Linked DNA regions of Homo sapiens: all the other regions are linked to region 3. Evidence: promoter capture Hi-C in human tissues and cell types (Jung and others, 2019). All regions are on one chromosome and are shown on one strand. Each heading gives the region's core, a stretch centred on a gene start or on the middle of the fragment in contact. The rest is flanking DNA. Distances are from core to core; before and after follow the strand shown.

Region 1 (2,921 bases), core at 331-2,830, 390 kb before region 3:
CCACTGAGGACACTAAGGTCCAGATGGATCAGTATTAGGCACCCTAGACCAGCTTTTTGGTTGGCAGAGGGGCCGGGATATCTTCATGAGAAAACACAAACCATCCCATCTCAGAACAGGTTGGGATCCAATCTCTTTATTGTCAGGGTCCCCTCCCTGTGGCCCCCCGCCAAACCTATAGAAAAAACCCAAGCCTGGGAGTGTCCTGGGGAGGGGAGGTAGTATGGGGAAACCCCTGTGCTCTACCCTCTGGCCTGGGCAGTGCAGACAGGGAGGGCTCATGGGGAAGGAGTAGGCCAGTAACTCCACCTGCAGAGGACATGGCACTGGCTGGGATGCGTTGGGGGAGGAGGCGCCTGCTGCCAGCTTTCCTCTGGTACCCGCTGGGGGGTGGCATCCAGGGTTGGGTGCCCGGCTTGAGGCCTGGGGCAGCGATGCCCTTCACCTGCTGGTGGCCATTGCTCCTGTCAGGCTGAGAAAGAGAGAGAGAGAAAGAAGAGACTAAGGCTGAGAGGAAGAGACCCTGTTGCTGATAAAAGGGGTAGGGAAGAAAGGGTGGAATGATGTCTGGAGACAGAGAGATTCTTGCACTCTGGCTGTGGCCTCATAATTTCCTGGCCATGTAACCTTGGGCAAGTCTCACCCGCTCTCTGAACCTCCATTTCCTCACCTGAGCCCATATAACTCACCTGTGAACTATTTTAACAAGCTTTGGAAAGCACCAGGCACAAAGGGGTGTAGCAGGATGGCTGGATATGGAGGTTTGTTTGCATCCCAGGCAAAACAAACCAAGAAGTTCCAAAAGAAGACTGCATATGTACAATTTTCTAAAGCTCTTCTGGAAGCCTTTGCTGGTGGGATATCTTACTACAGCATAAATGTGTCATCTATCCAGACACCTCCCTGGAAACACTAGTGTTTGAGACCTTCCTCCACCCAAGCCACCCCAAGGGAATGGGTCAGAGAGTAGTAGGCACAGCCAGGTGTGGCCTGGCTTTCCTTTAAGGTAGGGCAGAGTAGATGGTAAACAGTGGCCAGAGAGTGGGCTTTGAAGCCACACACCACTGGGCTGAAATCCAGGCTCCACCAACTACTACCTTATCTCCCTGCACCCTTTAGTGTCTGTTTCCACATCTATTATATTGGTACAATCATCAGCTTGTGGGATTGAAGATGAACTCAGAGAAAGCAGGTGCAGCTCCTGTCACACAGGGCATTTCCTCCCCATGAAAGAATCAAATCCCAGCCCCTAAGCCTGACACATACGGCCCTTCACAATCATCACCCTCTGACAATAAGCAGAGTCCTCTACCAACTAGGGGGGCACTGCAGCCACAGGAGGCTCTTGGCCTCACCACATACCAAGGACTGTCACAGCTCTGTATGGCTAAGGCCATTCCCCTGGTGTGGAACATTGCTCCCTCAATCACTAGCAGGCTCAGCTACACATCATCTCTTCCATGACCTGGCCTCGCTCTATTGTTATCCTGCTCACACTAGGTGGTAATGGCTTATGTCTTCCTCTACCAGACTAGGAGCTCCTCAAGGGCAGAGACAGGCAACATGGCTGAGTGTGCTGAGGGAAGGAACCCTTGCTAGGTGGGCCCGCCTGGCCCATCTACGGCACCTGCTTCCTCAGCATGGCAAGCCCCAAGCATGAAGGGGTGTGACGGGATGGCTAGATATGGAGGGGACTTCATTCTTGGGTATAGTCAGTGCTACTTGGCCAGGTATGCTTCGTGACACTTCCTGCCCAATCCAGGGAAAAGGCACAACCTCCACTTCACTGATTCCCCACCCTCTGCCCATCAGGACAGGACCCCTGTACCTGCTTACTGCAAGGCCCCATCATCCGCGTCTGTGTCCTGGCTGTGTTCCTGATAGGGAGGAGGTAAGAGAGACCACACATCACTCATTGCCAGCTCTGAGTCCTGCCCTGAGCCATTTGTCCAGAAAAACTTCATGGTCCAGAGGGCATCTAGAGGACACAGTCAGAAGACGCAGGAACAGCCAAGGGGAATGACTATGGGACCAGCCAACAAAGCTGGCTTGGGAACTTGGAAGGGTGGTCTGAGGACCCCACACAGGCCAGTGAAGGGTGTTCTGGGAGTGGCAGGAGCCCCATTTCTGTGCAGAGAGCCTGCACTGGAGAAGGCTGAAAGCCTTATAGACTGGTGAGCTCCCCATCTCTGGGGGCATCCAAGTCTTTGTTAGGGCCTTTATGGACACTGCTATGCCTGAGAAAATAAGATGAAGGATCAGGCTACGCTCAAAGGAGAGATGAGCTAGCATAAGGCAGACCTCCTAACCGTCATGGCCATGAGCCCATCTGTTCTCACGATAGAACCCAGCAGTGCTGAAAAGGAGAAAGCTGCAGATCCAGCAAGTCAGTCTGGACTCCAACCCTGGCTCAGTCCCTACGAGCTGATGCCCTGAGCATGCCACTCAGCCTTTCTGAGCCTCGATTTCCTCACAGGGTAAAATGTGGGAACAGAATACTCTGCATAGTACAGGGCTCTTGTTAAGGTTATGTGAAGTTAGAGAGTATGATCTGGGTCTTGGTGCTCAATGAGCGCTCATTAAGTAAATGAGCAGCAAGTGTACAACCCATATCCCACAGACTCAGAGTTTGGTCCACCCTCCCACTCAACATAAGCTCCTTGTCAAATGGCCTGCCGGCCTCAGCCTGAATAGTTCTAGTAACAGGCGGGGAGCTCACCCCCTTATGAGACAGCTTTTGCTTCATGCTTAAGCAGCAATGGCTTTTAGAAAAACCCACCTCCTGGCTGTGGCCTCCACAAGCCACCCCAGCCCTGCTCTGAAGCTCTGCAGGCCGTGTGTGCTCCCTTATGTCCGAATCTCCCATTCTCCAACTCATGTGGAAACCGGAGGCCAGAATGTGCCCGCATTTGGGGGAGGTC
Region 2 (3,205 bases), core at 453-2,952, 370 kb before region 3:
TTACAACAATCCTTCTCCTTGAACACACTGAGTGGCACCCCTCACAGCCCCAAAGGCTTGACCCTATAAGACAGCATATGCATCAACATATATCTTAAATTTCCCACATTCAGACAGGGGAAGGAAGGAACGGGTGACCTCTCTCCAGGGTGCTGATCCAAACATAACTTAGGGCTCTAAGCATCATCTCCCACAGTGTCACATGTTTGGTCTACAGGGGACCACTGAGAATGATGCCACAGTTGTAGCCACTCTGCCTTTGTCTCCCTGGTAACAACATTAACTCCACAAACATTACTAAGCATCTGCTTCCTGTGTGATCAATCAAGTGTGCCCCTGCCACCTCCTGTTTAAAATCCTTCAAGGGCTTCCCACCATAAAGAATCAAGTTCAAATCCTTTAATGTGGCTTACAAGACTCTTCATGAGTTAAGGCTACCAAATCTATACACAACAATCCTCTGAGTGGTTATATGTCATTCACTTTATAAATGAGTAAACCCTAGTGGGTTTAAATCCAGGATCAGCACTTACTAGTTGTGTGACCTTGGACATCTCATTAAACTCATTGAGCCAATGTTCTCTATTAGGCAAACCCTAGTGCAGAGAGTAAACCCTAGCGCAGAGAACATGCCTAAGGTCAGAGAGTGAACATGTCAATGTGAAATGGGTTCTTCCGAAGGGATGAGTATCATACTCCAAAGGATAGACTCAAGTTCAAAATCACCTTTTCTTGGATTAGTCATTGAGAAGTATGGGGATAGGGCATTGTATGGTTCAGGTGAACCGTTCCTTTCAGAGAGCAGCTTAGACACTGTCCCTTGTTTGAAGCTGCCACCCTGACCCCTCTCTCACTCCCACAGCAGCAGCATCATTAATAAACTTGGTGTAATGAACAAAATGTTCATTAGCATGTAATACGGTATACATATGCACGCTTATGTCCAAGATGCCCTGCTACCATAAGCTAAGCATCAAACGAAAGCCAACCAATGAACCCCTGCAACTTCACAAAAAACAGCCCTCAAAACGACAGGTATAACACACCCAATGCCTAGTGAACTTCTAAACTCATCAATTCAACTGATCATGACAGAAGCAGCTTTGGTATCTATGGTCTTTCCCCCTTGTCATTGTCTTAGAAAGAATTAACCCTTCCCGGCCCCCTTCCCCTCAAAAAGGAGGCACTACACTAAACAAGCTTCTACACTGCAACTGGTTAAAAGAAAAAAAAAAAGTTTCTCCAAAACTGTAATAGGTGTCTCAGCTGCAGGAGAAAGGGCATGGCTTTGGACAGAGACAGAACAAGGTTTAAATCCAGGATCAGCCACTTACTAGCTGTGTGACCTTGGACATCTCATTAAACTCCATGAACCAATGTTCTCTATTAGGCATATACATTTCCCCCACATACTGTTATTCACCACGCCCTCCTCATTTGGCCTCAATATTTTTAGAATGTAGCCCCCCTCTCTCCATTCTTATTACCATTCTTTAAATAATCCTCTACTGTCACCACAGCAATATTACCATATCATTTCTTTGTTTAAAATGGGTAAGATCAGAGGTTGTTTTTTTTTTTTTTTTTTTGAGACGGAGTCTCGCTCTGTCGCCCAGGCTGGAGTGCAGTGGCGCCATCTCGGCTCACTGTAAGCTCCGCCTCCCAGGTTCATGCCATTCTCCTGCCTCAGCCTCCAGAGTAGCTGGGACTACAGGCGCCCGCCACCATGCCCAGCTAATTTTTTGTATTTTCAGTAGAGACAGGGTTTCACCGTGTTAGCCAGGATGGTCTCGATCTCCTGACCTCGTGATCCGCCCGCCTCAGCCTCCCAAAGTGCTGGGATTACAGGCGTGAGCCACCACACCTGGCTGGTTTATTATTTTAAAATTCTTAACCAATAATTTGGGTAAGAATTTGTGCTATTATATTGAGTATGTTTATTATATGAAATTACCATATGAAATCATCTAACCCCCACCCCTCTATGGGACATAACTGTTAGCATGTTCATGTATTTCCTTCCAGTGTTTTTCTTGCACATTATGTTTGGATTACATGGTTAGATAACTCAACTCTGTAGCCTAATTTTTTCAATTAGCATTATAACACATTTATTATATATATTATAGCATATTTGTCCTTACTGCCGCATAGTTTTCGGTAAGCATCATTTTTTACACTACTGCTTTAAAAGCTCGTGGTTTTCCCTGAGTAGATTTATCATAGTTTAGATTGGTGGTCTTTTAGGCTTTTTCCAATTTCTCACTATTATAAACAATAGCATCTGAGGGAAAGCTTATTGTATAAACTAGACTATTTCCTTAGGACAGACTCCCAGAAGTGGAATGACTGGTCAAATATATGAACATTTTATTGGCTCTGGCAACACATTGCTTAACTGCTTTCCAAAAGAGTTACACCAATTTACACTGTTATCTCCAATGAATGCCACTTTCATGGCAACCTCGCAGCACCATGTATTACCATATTGGGCAGGTGGTGGGGTAGGGAGAGTAGAGGTGAATTAGTAGGGAAAATCAAATCCTCATTACTGTTTTCATGTACATGTGAAGATGTATAGTCTACTGTGTTTACTAGCTTTTGAGTCTACAAAGTTTTGAGTGCCATGAAGTTACTGTAGGTTCCTAGGTAGAGGAATAACATGCTAAAAAGATTTACTCATTTATCAAAAAATCATTTATTGTTCACCTATTACTGCCAGACACTGTATAAAACTACAGAGGTTAATAAAGTACAATCTCCCCCCTGGAAGAATTTATAGTCCAGTCAGTGGTGAAAACCTCAAGAAAACCAGAACCTATGTTTCATCTTGATGAGGTCTATGACAGGAGCAACTAGGAACTTGGAGGCATGTCAATTACCTAAGGGACAGAAAGAAAGGGAGACGACTCAGACAAGAAGAGTCAACAGTAAGTTCCAATCTTGTCCTGAAGGATGAGTTGAAGTTAACCCACACACAGGTAAGAGAGTACATTTAAGAGGAAATAGCATAAGGAAAGTTACAGAAGTTTGACAGAGATCCCACATTTAATGAATAATATGATGTATTGTGGTTTGCCCAGAGTCTAGGATGTAACAAGAAATGATGCCGATGATACTAGAGTGCCTAGCCGAGATCAGATCAGAAAGGGCTTTGTGGACACTGAAGAGTGAGCCATCACCCGTTCTGATGTTGTACGCAGCC
Region 3 (3,346 bases), core at 730-3,229:
TTCTAGCTATGATACATTCTAGGATTTGCAATGAGTAATTTCAGAAACTACTCATTGGAGGGGAAAACAACTCCTGATTTCCTAAACCACCTCATAGTTTGTAAAACACTTTCCAATTCCTTATGCTTTTCATTCTCCTGGCAACCCTGGAAGGGGCCAGGGCAAGGTCTGTGTGCCCATTTGAAACTAAGGGTGAGAAGCATCCTCAGGAGCTGTGATTTGAGGCTGCACCACTCATTTTGATTATGCTGGTACACCAGTTTGCTTTCAAATGTGAGTATGCATAAAAATAACCTGGAAGCTTGGTGAGGTGGCAGTCACCTGGAGTACCAGCTATGCTGGAGGCTGAGGCGGGAGGATCTCTTGAGCCCAGGGGTTTGAGACTACCCTGGGCAACATAGTGAGACCTCGTCTATATAAAATAAATAGGAAAAAAAAAATAAGATACTGGCTTTTCTAATTCCCTAAGTGTCAAAAAAAAAAAAAGAAAAAGAATAACAAATATCACCTGGAAAGGGGACATGGCATTGTTAAAATGCAGATTCTTGGGCACCTAGAGATTTTAAATTGGCAGGGCCAGGGTGGGCCCAAAATTAGCAAGTGACCACGTGGTTCTGAAGCCAGTGGCCTAAGGACCACCCTTGCAGAACCGTGGTCTCCTTGTCACAGTCTAGGCAGCCTCTGGCTTAGCCTCTGTTTCTTTCATAACCTTTCTCAGCGCCTGCTCTGGGCCAGACCAGTGTTGGGAGGAGTCGCTACTGAGCTCCTAGATTGGCAGGGGAGGCAGATGGAGAAAAGGAGTGTGTGTGGTCAGCATTGGAGCAGAGGCAGCAGTGGGCAATAGAGGAAGTGAGTAAATCCTTGGGAGGGCTCCCTAGAAGTGATGTGTTTTCTTTTTTTGTTTTAGAGACAGGATCTCGCTCTGTCGCCCAGGCTGGTGTGCAGTGGCATGATCATAGCTCACTGCAGCCTCGACTTCTCGGGCTCAAGCAATCCTCCCACCTCAGCCTCCCAAGTAGCTGGGACTACGGGCACACGCCACCATGCCTGGCTAATTTTTGTATTTTTTGTAGAGATGGGTCTTCACCATGTTGATCAGGCTGGTCTCGAACTCCTGGGCTCATGCGATCCACCCCGCCAGCTGATTACAGGGATTCCGGTGGTGAGCCACCGCGCCCAGACGCCACTTCATCGTATTGTAAACGTCTGTTACCTTTCTGTTCCCCTGTCTACTGGACTGTGAGCTCCTTAGGGCCACGAATTGAGGATGGGGCACAGAGCAAGCTCTCCAAACGTTTGTTGAATGAGTGAGGGAATGAATGAGTTCAAGCAGATGCTATACGTTGGCTGTTGGAGATTTTGGCTAAAATGGGACTTGCAGGAAAGCCCGACGTCCCCCTCGCCATTTCCAGGCACCGCTCTTCAGCTTGGGCTCTGGGTGAGCGGGATAGGGCTGGGTGCAGGATTAGGATAATGTCATGGGTGAGGCAAGTTGAGGATGGAAGAGGTGGCTGATGGCTGGGCTGTGGAACTGATGATCCTGAAAAGAAGAGGGGACAGTCTCTGGAAATCTAAGCTGAGGCTGTTGGGGGCTACAGGTTGAGGGTCACGTGCAGAAGAGAGGCTCTGTTCTGAACCTGCACTATAGAAAGGTCAGTGGGATGCGGGAGCGTCGGGGCGGGGCGGGGCCTATGTTCCGGTGTCCCCACGCCTCCAGCAGGGGACGCCCGGGCTGGGGGCGGGGAGTCACACCGCGCCTGGTACCATCCGGACAAAGCCTGCGCGCGCCCCGCCCCGCCATTGGCCGTACCGCCCCGCGCCGCCGCCCCATCCCGCCCCTCGCCGCCGGGTCCGGCGCGTTAAAGCCAATAGGAACCGCCGCCGTTGTTCCCGTCACGGCCGGGGCAGCCAATTGTGGCGGCGCTCGGCGGCTCGTGGCTCTTTCGCGGCAAAAAGGATTTGGCGCGTAAAAGTGGCCGGGACTTTGCAGGCAGCGGCGGCCGGGGGCGGAGCGGGATCGAGCCCTCGCCGAGGCCTGCCGCCATGGGCCCGCGCCGCCGCCGCCGCCTGTCACCCGGGCCGCGCGGGCCGTGAGCGTCATGGCCTTGGCCGGGGCCCCTGCGGGCGGCCCATGCGCGCCGGCGCTGGAGGCCCTGCTCGGGGCCGGCGCGCTGCGGCTGCTCGACTCCTCGCAGATCGTCATCATCTCCGCCGCGCAGGACGCCAGCGCCCCGCCGGCTCCCACCGGCCCCGCGGCGCCCGCCGCCGGCCCCTGCGACCCTGACCTGCTGCTCTTCGCCACACCGCAGGCGCCCCGGCCCACACCCAGTGCGCCGCGGCCCGCGCTCGGCCGCCCGCCGGTACGGACCCCAGGGACGCCGCGCCGACAGCGCCGCCTGTGCCCCCCGCGCAGACCCGGGAGGGCGCCGTGTTTGGCCTGGAGGCGGCAGGGGGCGGGGGAGGGGTTGACTGAGGCGCCCAGGCTGGGCGGTGCAGAGCCGGGGTTGGGCCTCCGGGCCCCGCCCTGGGGTGCGGGGTGACCTCGGGCCGGTCCCTGTTTGCTGCTCTGTGCTCTGCGCCTCAGCTTCCTCACCGGAGCCTCCCCAGCGTCGGACTCAGTGATAATAATAGCCCACGTGTATTCAACTGGCGTTTACTGCATGCCAGGCCTTTGGGCGACTTCAAGCCAGCTAAAACTCACAACCCCGCTGTGAGCTGTGTTGTCACTGTGCCCATCTGACGGAGGAGGAACTGAGGCCCAGAGAGGGAAAGTGACTTGCCCCTGGTCACACGGCTGCAGGTGGTGGGGCTGGGATTTGAACTGAGGCCTGCTGGCTTCAGCTCAGAATTTGCATCTCGGTAGTGAGCACAGCTGCTAGGGGAAGTGAAGGCGGGGCGGAGGAAAGTCCTGGGGCCTAACCGTTGGTGAGCCATTGAGGAGACCCTCCTTCCTGCCTCGATGCTGACTGCCAGGTGCAGGCCTGGCCGGCCAGGCCTCTGGGGACAGCCCTCCTGGCTGGGAGGCCTTCTCTGCAGGGGCGGGGCAGCTGGACCAGCTGCTGATCCCCTCCCTCTGCCTGTCCTTCCATCTGCCACCCTCCACCCTCCCAGGCCCTGGTTGCCATGGAACCTCATTAATCAGGCAGGCCGACCCCTGAGTCTCTGTAGAAGGACTAGGTGGGCTGGGCCTCTGGGAGCTGGAGAGGAGGCCCCCAGTGCCAGGAGAGAAAATGTCTCAGGGAGATCCTTTAATAAAGCCCTCCCTGATCGCTGAGCTCAAGACGAATTCAGACTGGAGGGCCCAGAAGAGGCGGCTGAATTCCAGTGGGAGAAGGGATTGGAGGCG
Region 4 (3,357 bases), core at 162-2,661, 450 kb before region 3:
AGTCCTCCCACCTTGATCTCCTAAAGTGCTGGGATTACAGGCATGAGCCAACATGCCCAGCTTTCAGTCTTTTTTACTGCCACATAATATTCCATTATGTATATATATCACATTTTCTTTCTCAGTCATCCACTGATGGACACAAAGTTGATTCAATATCTTTGCTATTGTGAATAGTGCTGCAATAAACATATGGGTGGAGCTATCCCTTGATATACTGATGTCCTTTCCTTTGGATAAATACTCAGTAGTGAGACTGCTACCTCGCATGGTAGTTCTACTTTTAGTTTTTTTGAGAAATCTCCATACTGTTTTCCATAATGGCTGTACTAATTTACATTCCCACCAACGGTGTGTAAGTTTCCTCTTCTCTGCATCCTGACCAGCAACTGTTTTTTTTTTTTTTTTTTTTTAATCTTTTTCATAGTAGCCATTCTAACTGGGGTGAGACAATATCTCATAGTGGTTTTGATTCCCCCCCCTCTTTTTTTTTTAGACAGAGTTTCTCTCTTGTTGCCCAGGCTGGAGTACAATGAGTACAATGGCACGATCTCAGCTCACTGCAACCTCTGCTTCCTGGGTTCAAGCGACTTTCCTGCCTCAGCCTCCTGAGTAGCTGGGAGTATAGGCGTGTACCACCACGCTGGCTAATTTTGTGTTTTTAATAGAGACGGGGTTTCACTATGTTGGCCAGGCTGGTCTTGAACTCCTGACCTCAGGCCCATCTTGGCCTCCCAAAGTGCTGGGATTACAGGCATGAGCCACCAAGCCTGGCCTTGATTTGCATTTCTATGATGATTAGTAATATTGAGCATTTTTTCATATACTTGATGGCCTTTGTACGTCTTCTTTTGAGAAATGTCTGTTCAGATCCTTTGCCCGCTTTTAAAAATGGAATTGTTTTTGCTGTTGAGTTGTTTGAGTTCCATGTATATTCTGGATATTAATCCCTTGTTAGATGAATGGTTTGCAAATATTTTGTACCATTCAACAGGTTGTTTCTTCATTCTGTTGTTTCCTTTGCTGTGCAGAAACTTTTTAGTTTAAAATAGTCCCATTTGTCTATTTTTGTTTTTGTAGCCTGTGCTTTTGAGGTCTTAGTCATAAAGTCTTTGCCTAGACCCATATCCTAGAGTGTTTCCCCATGTTTTCTTCTAGTAGTTCTACAGTTTGGAGTACATTTAAGTCTTTAATGCATTTTTGAAGGGAGGCTGCCCCTCCACACCTGTGGGTATTTCTCGCAAGATGGAGACGAGCGACTGAGAAAAGAAATAAGACACGGAGACAAAGTATAGAGGAAGAAAAGTGGGCCCAGGGGACCGGCACTCAGCAAGTGAGGACCTGCACTGGCACTGGTCTCTGGTTCCCTCCATATTTATTGATCACTATCTTTACTATCTCTGCGAGGGGAGTGTGGCGGGGCTATAGGGTGAAGGTGGGGAGAGGGTCAGCAGAGGAACATGTGAGCAAAGACTCTGTCATAAATAAGTTTAAGAAAAGGTGCTGTGCCTGGATGTGCACAATCGCTAGATTTATGTTTAAGCTTACATAAACAACTCAGTGCAGTAAAGAGTAACAGAGCAGTATTGCCGCCATGATGTCTCACCTCCAGCCATAAGGTGGTTTTCTCCTGTCTCAGAATAGAATATATGGTCGGTTTTATGCTGAGACATCCAATCCCAGGGACGTGCAGGAGACAGATGCCACGCTCTTATCTCAACCGCATAGAGGCCTTCCTCTTTCACTAATCCTCCTTAGCACAGACCCTTTACGGGTGTAGGGCTGGGGGGCTGTAAGTTCTTTCCCTTCCCATGAGGCCATATCTCAGGCTGTCTCAGTCGGGGGAAACCTGGACAATACCCAGGCTTTCTTGGGCAGGGGTCCCTGCAGACTTCCACAGTGCATTGTGTCCCTGGTTAACAGAGAATGGAGAATGGCGATGACTTTCACCAATATACTGCCTGCAAACACATTTTTAACAAAGCACATCCTGCACAGCCCTCCCTTAAACCTTGAGTCAATACAGCACATGTTTTTGCGAGCACAGGGTTGGGACAAGAGTTACAGATTAACAGCATCTCAAAGCAGAACAATTTTTCTTAGTACAGATCAAAATGGAGTTTCTTTTGTCTTCCTTTTCCTAGATAGACACAGTAACAATCTGATCTCTTTTTCTTTTCCTCACACTTCCCCCTTTTCTTTTGACAAAACCGCCATCTTCATTATGGCCTGTTCTTGATGGTTACTGTCTCTTCGGAGCTGCTGGTTACACCTGTAGACTAACAACAGACAGAATAGGCACACAAGGATTAATATGAAATTTACAATAGTGGAACTTCTGAGGGTTTTAACCCAAGTGACAGGGTTAAGATTTGTGAAGCCATCAGCAGCTCCTGCGATTGCCTAAGTTCCTGGTACGAAATGTAAATGGGCTTTTGATACTTTGAAAATTTGCTCTTTTAATTTTGAAATGTCTAAAGTAAGATTATCTTCTCTTCCCTGTAGATGGCGTCTAACCATGTCCCAGTGATGCTCAGACTCATTATAGGCTCGGGGTGTAATACAAAAATCTGATGTATTCCAGTCACAGTGTAACTGAAAACGATTTCCAAGCTCATGAGCTTATCTCCCATCCAAATGACAGTTTGTCTAAGATCATTAATTGGGTTCGACAATTTTTGATCAATACCAGATTGTGAATTCCACAATCTCATAGAATTTTTTTGCCAATTGTTAACAAAGCGTACTGTCTGAACAGAAGAGTGCAATGCAACTTCTGCCGCAGCAGCCGTAGCTGTGACTGCAATTAATCCCATAATCACTGCATCAAAGTAAAAATGAATCTTTTGAATCTATTTAGAACTCCTTTTAATACTTCAGTCAAAATATGGACAGATGGCGAAGCCTCCCACGGTCGGTCCATGGACACAGGAATCCACACGCCCTCTCTTGCTCTCACTAGTAGAATACGGTGCTGCCAATTAAAAGTCGAATCAATGCTAGTAAACAATCTACAATTTTCATAGGTTATAGTTTGGGAATCTGGTTTAATAACTATGTTTCCTACAATTAGCATATAAGGGGGTTTTACACAACTTTGCAAAGGAATTGTCAGACTGGAATTTAGGTCAATAGTATAAGATGGCTTACGGTCTTTTGTTCCTATAACTTGATTTCCAGACCAAATTCCAATGTGGTGCGAGGCCACATAAGCCTCCATAATTCTAGATGTTCAGGACCAATGACAGGACTTATTATCTTTGGTCTTGTAGCAGAGATTCCTTTTTCTGCCCATTCCCAAGGGTAGGGAGATTCTAACCTTTTGTACTTATTTTTATCTAAACCTTCTCTGAAGTC

Evidence for each region. Contacts are between HindIII fragments. The study calls those that stand out against the background at their distance.
Region 1: a fragment that was not itself captured here is called in contact with the fragment with the promoter of E2F1 in region 3 in 1 of the 25 tissues and cell types used here (dorsolateral prefrontal cortex).
Region 2: a contact is called between a fragment that was not itself captured here and the fragment with the promoter of E2F1 in region 3, in 1 of the 25 tissues and cell types used here (dorsolateral prefrontal cortex).
Region 4: a contact is called between a fragment that was not itself captured here and the fragment with the promoter of E2F1 in region 3, in 1 of the 25 tissues and cell types used here (lymphoblastoid cells).

What each region holds. Positions count from the first base shown.
Region 1 is chr20:34,077,461-34,080,381 of GRCh38, reverse strand. It overlaps RALY (RALY heterogeneous nuclear ribonucleoprotein), which reads right to left. Exons shown (of 10, transcript NM_016732.3): 9 at 1,829-1,877; 10 at 1-472. The coding sequence ends at 1,833. Among named protein-coding and RNA genes, the nearest start is that of MIR4755, 30 kb to the right of the region's middle. RefSeq lists an enhancer at 2,783-2,921. The HindIII fragment of the contact is 3,668 bases long and covers 1-2,921 here.
Region 2 is chr20:34,056,051-34,059,255 of GRCh38, reverse strand. All of the region lies in intron 2 of RALY (RALY heterogeneous nuclear ribonucleoprotein), which reads right to left. Among named protein-coding and RNA genes, the nearest start is that of MIR4755, 8.5 kb to the right of the region's middle. The HindIII fragment of the contact is 3,702 bases long and covers 1-3,205 here.
Region 3 is chr20:33,685,018-33,688,363 of GRCh38, reverse strand. It overlaps E2F1 (E2F transcription factor 1), which reads left to right and starts at 1,979. Exons shown (of 7, transcript NM_005225.3): 1 at 1,979-2,360. The coding sequence starts at 2,100. RefSeq lists silencers at 1,640-2,139, 2,250-2,609. The HindIII fragment of the contact is 12,256 bases long and covers 1-3,346 here.
Region 4 is chr20:34,134,423-34,137,779 of GRCh38, reverse strand. No RefSeq gene overlaps it. Among named protein-coding and RNA genes, the nearest start is that of EIF2S2, 24 kb to the right of the region's middle. The HindIII fragment of the contact is 7,856 bases long and covers 1-3,357 here.